2 separate regions of the Homo sapiens genome follow, and region 1 is linked to region 2. Evidence: promoter capture Hi-C in human tissues and cell types (Jung and others, 2019). All regions are on one chromosome and are shown on one strand. The core of a region is centred on a gene start or on the middle of the fragment in contact, and the rest is flanking DNA. Distances in the headings are between cores, read along the strand shown. Region 1 overlaps SLC7A14-AS1 (SLC7A14 antisense RNA 1). Region 2 holds the start of CLDN11 (claudin 11).

Region 1 (5,356 bases), core at 299-2,798, 230 kb after region 2:
CTTTGCCATGCTGTGGTGAATTCTGCCCAGTCCAAACCTCCCAGTCTCCTTCGCACTGTCGGGGGAAAACTGCCTACTAAAGCCTCAGTGATGGTGGATACCCCTCTGCTCACCAAGCTCCATCATCCCAGGTCAACTCCAGACTTCTACGCTGGCAGTGAGAATTTCAAGCCAGTGGTTCTTGGTTTGCTGGGCTTTGTGGGAGTGGGACCTGCTGAGTGAGACCACTTGGCTCCCTAACTTCATTCAGGCCCCTTTCCAGGGGAGTGGACGGTTCTCCTGTCCCATTGGGGTTCCAGGTGCCACTGGGATATGAAAAATCTCCTGCAGCTAGCTCAGTGCCTGCCTAAACAGCCACCCAGTTTTGTGCTTGAAACTCAGGGTTCTGGTGGTGTAGGCTCACAAAGGAATCTATTGATCTGTGGATTGCGAAGATCTGTGGGAAAAGCATAGTACCCGGGGCGGGTAGCACTGTCCCTCATGGCTTCCCTTGGCTGGGGGAGGCAGGTCCCCTGCCACCTTGCACTTCCCAGGTAAAGCCATGCCCCGCCCTGCTTCTGCTTGCTCTCTGTGGGTTGCATCCACTGCCTAACCAGTTCCGTGAGATGAACTGGTACCTCATTTGGAAATACAGAAATCACCTGCCTTCTGCATTGGTCTCGCTGGGAGCTGCAGACCAGAGCTGTTCCCATTCGGCTATCTTGGCCCTTACCCAAATGGAGAATTTTTTAAACTAGTGATGCCAAGGCCCCACTCCAGACTGATTAAATCAGCAGGTCTGTCCTATGCATGCTGATGTATTTGGCTGAGGTCATAATGTCTGCATCTTATTTTCCAAAGCATTTTGTGTGTATTTATATTTCTCTATCTATCTATCTAAATGTTACTATGTATATATATATGTGTATTGTACTGTTATTCCACATTTTCTGTATGTTTGACATTTTTCAAAATAAAGATTGAGAAAAAATGATGAGTATCTCCAGGATTGGCTGGGTCATCTGTCTTCACAAAGTTTCTGTGTGGTGCTCCTGTCCAGAGCTGGCGAGATTGAGGGCACTTAACGTTTGACACACTGCTTTGACTCTGACTCCCCTAGGAGACTGTCCTACCCTGAGGACAGGGGCCTCGTGTGCCTCAGAACTTTGCATTCCCCTATCCCCCAGCCCTAGAATGTGCCTGGCATATAGTGGGCATTGAATACATATTTGATGAGCCTAACCAAAAGGAAGTTACATTCAGGGCAGATAGGTGAATATGTATTTATTATTCTTTCAATCAATCAATCAATCAATCAATCAATCTTTCGTCACTTATGGAGTGCCTATTGTTTCATGCATGTTTTAGGCACAATGGATCATCTAATGATCTAATGAAGGACAGGGTTTCTCACTCTTGGAAGTATGGAGATTTTGGCCCAGATAATTCTTTGTTGTAGGGGGCTGTCCTGCGCTTTGTAGGATGCTTAGCAGCATTTTTTATCTTTACTCACTAGATGATAGTAGCAACATACCTCCAACCTCACAAGTTGTGTTAATCAAAACTTTCTCCAGACATTACCAAATGTCCTCTGGGAGCAAAATTTTAACCTCCAGTTAAAAAGCACTGATCTGTAAGACAGCCTGCCTTTAAAAAATCTGAACAGTAATGAAGGAAATGGATATATATACACGTGTGTGTGTGTGTGTGTGTGTGTGTGTGTGTGTGTGTGTGTGTGCAATGAAAGATAAGATGTGTGAAGGACTGTAATGTATCAGAATGTTATGAAGCATAAGAAGAGAAAAAGTTAATTTCATTTGGGGGCATTTGGGAAGACATTATTGTAAGCACTGGGTTTGGGTTTTAGTAGCTTTGTGGATGGGAAGCTCTTTCAATGTAATTTCCTTTCCTAAGCTTCTGCCAGCTTACATCTACACAGCCTGCGGTCACCCTTGTCGTCTTCTGAACCTTGTTTCTTAGACGAAGAAACTGAATCCAAGCGAGTTTGGATTACTTGAGGTAAGAGGTGGTTTACAACACAGACCTTGGAACCAGACTGCCTGGCTTTGAATCCTAACTCTACCAATTTCCAGTCGTGAGCTTAGGGCTTGTGATTTAACCTCTTAACACCTCAGTGTCCACATACAGAAAATGGAGCTAATAATAGCTTCTATCATCTCATAGAGTTTTAGTGAGAAATTTACATGTGTCAAATGTTTAGAACAGCACCTGGCCTCCATATATACATAAAAAACTATGGAAGTGTTTGCTACTATCACTATTGTTACCAAAGCCATCCAGCAACTTGGTGGCTGAGGTGAAGTGATCAATTGGATCTGCAGTCTCCTGGCCCAGGGTTTTCTCCACTGCAAAGTCTTTTTGCTGGCACCACTGGGAAAGGCAGACCCCATGAGCACCATTCTCTGTTTAAACTTCACCATCCAATAGAAATATCAAGCAAGCCCCATGTGTAGATTTTCTAGTAGCCACATAAAAAAAGAAAAATGGATGAAATTAATTTTAGTAATACATTTTATTTTAGCCAATATATGAAAATATTAGTATTTCAATACGTAATCAATAAAAATTGTTAATGAGATATTTACATTTTTTTTTCCATACTAAGTCTTGGAATCCAGAGTGTACACATACAGCATATCTCAAGGAGCCACTTTTCAAGTGCTCAATAGGCGCATGTGGCTTGTGGCTGTCATATTGGAGAGTACAGATTTTCTAAACACTGCAAGGGCTTTCAAGGTGGCCGGACATTCATATTATTTCTGACTATGCCTAGGGGATGACAAATCAGCGCAAATAGTAAAAGTCTTCTTGAGTTTTTTGCAGGACACTGCATCCCCTTCCCCTTCCCCTTCCCTTTCCCCTTTCCCCTTTCCCCTTTCTCCCTTCTCCTCCTTCTTCTTCTTCCTTTTGTGAGAAAGCCAGCCGACTATTGCTCGGGGGCAGGCAACTCACAAGCTCTTTGTGGGGCTGGTCAGCTTCCTCTTCACCATCACAGACGTCTGGCTGCGCAGGATGGCGCTGGCCTTGCTGATGGCAGCCATGGCAGGTCAGGGCGGTACTTGTTCTTGCGGATCATGTATCTGATGCTGCTGAGTTTGGCTCCAGCGTTCTTGTTGATGATGGTCCGCACGTAGGAGATGGCAGGCGTCCGCTGGCCGGATCTCCGCTTCGTGACCACCAGGACACCTCTGCCATGGGCTGCCGGCTCCACGCCCACAGTCTTGCAGTGAATCAGCCGGTTGTAGCGGGAAGGAGTTGCGGGCCTTCAAGTTATTGGGCTCGGTGCTGTAGGTGTGTTTATTCCTCTTGATCAGGAAACTGGAGCAGTTCCGCATGATCACCGATTGCAGATGCGCAGACATGGCGGCAGCTCCTCTCACAGCGAACGCCGGAGACGGAAGGAGCTGGATACTCTTCTTGCTTGTTCCTATCCCAACTTCATCAAAATAAGGCGACTATTTTTTTTTTAAATGGTAGGAGTTCATTCATTAGCCTTTCCAACCTTGATTTAACTTAAGTACAGCTTTCAGTAAATCATGACACAACAGCTCCAGATGCCACCCAAGATGTTCAGAGGCGCATATGTAACCTCTGTGAGCCCGGAGCTCCTGCTTACCCTGCCAGATGAAGCCTTGCCACCTCTTTCCATGGCTAGCCTGGAATCTCCTGCCTTGACTCTTCTGTGGTGACCTCAGATTGCCTCCTAGGACCTCCTGAGTGGGCCAGCATCATCTGCTCCTCTTCCACCCCAGGAATGGGGAAGGGGATGGAGGCTGAGAACAATTGGCGACCTGTCTGAGGCCAGGCAGAAATTTGTCACCACTGATGGAACACAAGCTGGCAGGCCCTGGGTGGCCTCTTTAAAATGTTCTGCAGTGCAAGCATTGCACACTCCTGGCAATTTTGTAAGGGCAGTGTCCAGGACAATAGCAAAGAAATTCTTACCTTGCTTACTGTGAGTCACATGCTGTTCTTAGTGCTTTACTTTACTGACAAAATCCTCGCCGCAGCCCACTGAGGCTGCTGGTCTTATTAACCCCATTTTACAGATGAGGAAATTGAGATCTGGAGAAGTAAATGGCCTGCGTAATGTCACACAGATGTAAGAGGCAAAGAGGAGTCAAACCCAGAGTCTGAGTGCCTCGTTGTGCCACAGTGAACCCTTCAGACTTGGGTTGGGCCACCAGCCTTTGCTTCTCAGTGAGAAATGTAGGTTCCAGGAAGATAGGGTTTCTGTGATTTTGTTCCCTGCTCCGTCCTCACCACCTAGAACCTATTGGTTGACTGGCTGCCACCTCCTTGCTGCTGGTGGTGTCCAATCTTAGCTCTAGACCACAACTCAGGCCGATGGTTGTTCCACTGGGCGCTTGTCATCCTGCATATGATCTGACTTTGACTTCATGCCTTGCCTACTGCTTGCACTTGATTTTTGGCCTCTATGTAAGTGACCAGAGACCTGCCCCAAGGCCAGAGAGGCGTTCAGTTGCTTGAGGCAACTCAGGCTCAAAGCAGATCTGATCTTGGCATAAGCACATTGAGTCTTATTTCCCTACCCTCTGAATGATGAGGCTGGATCAGGTGAGGCTGGAGTATCAGTGTTTCCACCCCTTCGCTCCTGGAAGGTTGGGATTGGGGGGTGGAAGAGTGGGGATATGGTACAGGCTGATGGTACAAGGATTTCTGTGTGCAAGAAAATGTGCTCCATGCCAGTCTTTATGGGTGGTTACAGGGAGGAGTGCCTGGCACCAGCTACCCATCCGAAGACATTTACAGTCTAGCCTGGATGTAGCAGGTTCCCAGTTGCCCTCCTCCTCCCACCTCTGGCTCTAGCCCAGGCCAGCCTGACTCCAGGTTCCACACTGTTTCCACACTGGCTGTTGGTGCAGGTCCACCTGAGGAGAAATCACCTTGGCTCCCTTTCTACTCCCCTAATATCTTGTTTTCTGCATCTGAAGACCTCCTGATCTTTCTTCATCTGAATAACCACAAAGGGCCCCTTGAATGGTGGAGAGTGTCAAAAGGTGCAGCCTCAGGAGGGCCCTGGAGAGCACAGGGGCCCGTGTTGTCTGAGAACCTGCAGTCTGGCTGTTCCACTTCTCCCCCTGTGCAGGCTCAGGCTTCCATCTCAGGATGTGCACAGGCCCCAAGTCTGGGGCCCTCACTCTCTGTATACTGCCTTCAGTGGGAATAAGGGATCCCAGGAGAGGAGGTCTGGAACTTTGTCGGGGGAAGCTGGAGAGCTGGGTTGGGTGGGACACAGGGCCAGCTAAACCCAAGTCCATGGGCGGGTTTCTTCCCTGAACCTGTTATCCTTTGATTCTCATATGAGGATGTTCCCATGATACCACAGGGCACT
Region 2 (4,856 bases), core at 1,719-4,218:
CAGTGCTGGGCACTATGCTGAGTACTTCATATAAATTATCTCACTTGATCCTCACCATGCCCTAAGGGGGCATTTACTATCTCACTTTGTACATGAAGAACCTGAGAGTCACGTAGGTGAAGGGCCAGCTCAAGTGGTGAAGACAGAATGTGAACCTAGGAGGTCCCAGTCCAAGACAGCAATCTTAACAACTTGGCAATTTTTTTTTTTTTTTTTTTTTTTTTTTACCATTTAGTGCCTGAGTTCTGAAATCTGGCTTTACAAACACTATGTGTGTGTGACCTGTGGATGATCTGGGCATTATTATATTCTGATTGGTTGAAGTTTCATGGTTCGAATGTCAAATTCTAATGGAGGCATAAGAGTGCAGATTCCATGAGTGCTTTTACAAGAAGTTGATGTTGCTTGGGTTTTATGTTTTATGTTGTATTTAGCACAAAAGCCATTTTAAAAAAGTGTTATAAGGAAATATCTGAAAACATTCAGTCCATAGACCCTGGTGATGAAACGTCCCCCAAACACAATGGCTCACTCAGAACATACTCCTATGGAATAGTTTCCACAAATCAAACTCATACGAATATAGGGAGGATACATAAGAATGCAAAATCAGGCCAAGCCTGCTGGCTCATGCCTATTATAATCCCAGCACTTTGGGAGGCCAAGGCAGGTGAATTGCTTGAGCGCAGGAGTTCAAGACCAGCTTGGGCAACATAGTGAGACCTTCTCTCTACTAATAATAAGAAAGATTAGCTGGGCATAGTGACTCATGCCTGTAGTCCTAGCTACTCAGGAGGCTGAGGTGGGAGGATCACTTGAGTCCCGGGGTTCAAGGCTACAATGAGCTGTGATCACGCCACTGAACTGTAGACAGGGTGACACAGATCTTGTCTCAAAACAACAACAACGGCAACAACAACAACAACGTTCTGAAGCATCACATTAGCCAGGGGTTTCTGAATACTTACTTTGTACCAATGTTACTTTAAGTTCTGCATATATATTACTAGGTTGGTATAAAAGTAATCGTGGTTTTTGCCGTTATGTTTAATACTTTGCACCAACCTAATAGCTCACAGAATAAAAAAAAAAGTCTATGAGGTAGGTACAGTTTTCATCCTTATTTTACAAATGAGAAAAGGAGGCCAAGAATGATAAAGTAACTTGGTCTCACAGCCAGAAAGTGATGGAGCCAAGATTTGAACTTGGGCAGTTGGACTGTGTTCTTAGTCACTGTGCTTCCTGGGTGATTACTGTGACCCTTGTACTTGACACTCTGCTATCAATTACAAGAGCCATTTCTGTGTGTGCACTTGATTTCCTTGGGGTCTCCAGGGAAATGTAATTGTCTCCTCAAGTCCAGGCTTTCCTAGAAGACATGGTGATTGCACTGATAACCAGCATTAGGGCTGGCTTTGGGAAAGCTCAGTACCTATGATTTATGGTTAGTATCTTAGATTTTAGAACGCTGAGCAGGAAGTTTTTGTGCTTTCTGAAATCCTCACACCTTTAAGTCTCATGATTGGTGAGGAGGCAGTGGTCCAAGGGAATGGATAGAAGGAGATAATAAGATAAGCCAAATGTTTCAAAGGGAGTGAAAACTGTTGAATGTAAATGCAGCTCAAGGAAGACTTCCCTATCTGAATAAAAAGGTGCAAATAATGCGGCCTATTTGTATGCATGGTGGCTTAATGATGTTGATGGTGATGATGATAGCTTTACACTATCAGAGCGCTCATTCTGGGCTAGGCAGTTTTCTCAGTGGGGTACAGATATTAATTTATTTACAGTGAGCCAGAGAAGTCTGCTGTAGCTTTTAATGCGTCTAAAATGGGACACATGAACCCCTTAGGAATTTTCAGACTGATCAGGACAGTTTCCTAGAAACAGTTCGTGAAAGGGATGAGATGGGCCCATGGTATCTACCCCTTCCTAGCTGCGTGAACTTGGGCAACTCAACCTTCTTGTGCTGTTTCTCTATGGCTAGTGCGTGTAATTTGTTGTTGTTGTTGTTGTTTGCTTTTGAGACGTTGTCTCACTCAGTTGCCCAGGCTGGAGTGCAGTGGCACGATCTTGGCGCACTGCAACCTCCTTCAAGTTATTCTCCTGCCTCAGCCTCCCAAGCAGCTGGGGTTACAGGCATGCGCCACCATGCCCGGCTCATTTTTGTATTTTCTGTAGAGATGGAGTTTCACCATGTTGGTCAGGCTGGTCTCGAACTCCTGACCTTAGGTGATCCGCCCACCTTGGCCTCCCAAAGTTCTGGGATTACAGGTGTGAGCCACCACTCCCGGCCTAGTATGTGTCATTGACAATTGTTCCTACCTCAAAGGCTGTTATGAGGATTAAATGAGCTAATGCATGTAAAATGCATCTGCATAATATATAACACAGCTCGATAAATGTGAGTTGCTATTGTTGATTATTATGGCCACGTTTGCCGCTGATGATGTTCAACCACTGAAAAGCATCGTTTTCTTTCTTCTAGTAACTGTGTGTACTGAATGCCTCGCGTTTGTCCCTACTGCACTTTTCAGTCTGTCACAATCCTGGGTCGTCGGGGGACTGTACCGAGCGCCCTTGGAGTGCTCGCAGCAGGGAAGAAGGAGCGAGCAGGGAGGAGCTGAGGAGGGTCGGAGCGGAATGGACACCCAGAGACTGAGATGAGAGAGGGGCTATAAGAAGAGAAACCAGTCGCAGGAAAACAGAACTCTCGACAAACGCACGCCCTCTTTGCGCTCTCCGTTTCTCTGGACCTGGATGGAATTGTTTTACTTTGCATCGCCGGACTGCGCTGCGGACGGGGTGGGGCGGCCCAATGGCCCCCCTGGGGTTACTCTGCTCCCCTTCACGCTTCCCTCCCGGCCCCGCCCCGCGATTGGCCGGCGCGCCCCGGGGCTGCCGCCGATTGGTGCTCGCCGGCCGGAGCCGCGGGGCTTAAAGAGGGGGCGGGGGCGCGCTGCCCAGCAGCGCTGCTGTCCCCGCCGTGCGCCCTTCGCCGCTGAGCTCGCAGCCTCCGGCGCCCACCTCCACCTCCAGTGTCCCGCCTCGGGCCGTCGCCCTCCAGCGGCTCGCGAGCGTGGGAGACGTACCTGGGCAGGCACTGTCCAGCCCAGGCCCAGGCACAGCCGTGAGGGGCGAGGCACGGGGACATCCTGGCGGCCACCATGGTGGCCACGTGCCTGCAGGTGGTGGGCTTCGTCACGAGCTTCGTGGGCTGGATCGGGGTCATCGTGACCACCTCCACCAATGACTGGGTGGTGACCTGCGGCTACACCATCCCCACCTGCCGCAAGCTGGATGAGCTGGGCTCCAAGGGGCTGTGGGCCGACTGCGTCATGGCCACGGGGCTGTACCACTGCAAGCCCCTGGTGGACATCCTCATCCTGCCGGGTAAGGACCCGAGCTTGGCGGCGGCTCCCAAATCCTTATCCTCTGGGTAGAGAGCGGGATATTAGACGGCGTCACAGAGACATTTTGGGGGCTTGAAGACCTTTGGGTACGTTTTTGACATCCCTAGTCCCACCTTGTTGTAAAAGAATTAGGCAGCCCCGAACTTAACTTCTCTAGGCCGCAGTATTCTTATCTGGAATTTGAGATAATAGTGGCAATGTGGCCGGTGGTAACACTGGCCGGGTCCCTTTGAGAATGAACAAACCGGAACACCTAATAGGAACTGAGTCCGTGTTAATTACTGCGGTCCCAGCCCGCATCCTTCCACCGTCCGCTTCCCGAAGTGCTTCCCGCTCCCGCCCGGCCTCCCCCGGGGCGCCGAGCCTTCGCGTTAGGTTCCGCCCGCAGAGGTGAGAAGGAGCGTGTAACACAAGCTGACAGGAGAATCGAACCGGCTCAGGCTGAGTTTCTCGGTCCTCATGGGATGGGCGAAGCGCCCCCGGCCAGGTTAGAGCCCTCCTAGCTCCGTCCGCGCAGCCGCTGAGCAATTCACGTCCAGGGCTCTCTGGGCTGCCTGGTTTGGGAAATGTCACGTTGATTCCCGCACGTGCCCAGGGCCATCTCCGCTGCCCCCGCTACCCCCGCCCCTGCTGTGGGCGCGTCAGACTGCGGGGCTGCGGTGACGCCGGCTCCCGCTCCGCGCCGCTGGGTTGGATAGGGACGAGCGGGCGCTCCTCGGAGGGCGGACTCCACTGGGGAGATACGGAGCGCGCCGCCGAGGGTCGCTCGCCGCCACCCCTCCAGCGTGTCTCAGATTGGGAAGGGGAGGTAAAAATTGACAGCCTAGCGCCGGCCAGGGGCCACATTTTCACATGTGTCCTGTGGAAACATTTTGGGCGACAGCCTCAATTCAGATTTAAACCAATGGGTTGGGCAATGGCGAGGTCGCGGGCACCCCCTTGGTTTTCTGCTGGAATCTCTGCTCTACCCCCAAGGCATGTCCCTACAAGGTGGGCTTCTGTCCCCCAGCCTTCGTGGATTGTGCTCACTTAAAGGATTTTCCCGGTTTCCTCAAGATGGGGAGAAACCTGTCCCTGAAGCCGCCAGTCAGATAAGACTGTGCTCGCCCCTTAAGCCTCCTCCAAGCACGCCCTATTTCCGGTCCTCGCAGTCGGAATCTGAATCCCTCCTTTCTCCTTGCTGCCTAGTACTTGGCTCTTATCCTCACAAAGGCACATTTTATCTTGTTTTTTGTTGATTGTTCGTGAGTGAAGTTCTCCCACTACGTTTTAAATTCCTTGAAGATAGAGATGGCGTCCTGTTATTCTCTTTGCTTCCTCTTCTGGACCTGGCATGGCCTCTGGCACACAATAGCTGCGGGCAGTGCTTGCCTGGTTTGCCTTACGCTATCCTTTCCTTCATTTTGAACTTTCAGAAGGCCAGAGGTCAACGAACGCAGATCT

The links. Contacts are between HindIII fragments. The study calls those that stand out against the background at their distance.
Region 1: a contact is called between a fragment that was not itself captured here and the fragment with the promoter of CLDN11 in region 2, in 2 of the 25 tissues and cell types used here (adrenal gland and mesendoderm cells).

Annotation. Positions count from the first base shown.
Region 1 is chr3:170,650,898-170,656,253 of GRCh38, forward strand. The region is part of intron 2 of SLC7A14-AS1 (SLC7A14 antisense RNA 1); the gene reads left to right. It also overlaps the pseudogene RPL28P1. Among named protein-coding and RNA genes, the nearest start is that of SLC7A14, 68 kb to the left of the region's middle. The HindIII fragment of the contact is 4,972 bases long and covers 1-4,034 here.
Region 2 is chr3:170,415,900-170,420,755 of GRCh38, forward strand. It overlaps CLDN11 (claudin 11), which reads left to right and starts at 2,969. Exons shown (of 3, transcript NM_005602.6): 1 at 2,969-3,393. The coding sequence starts at 3,168. RefSeq lists an enhancer at 2,717-3,669. The HindIII fragment of the contact is 16,199 bases long and covers 1-4,856 here.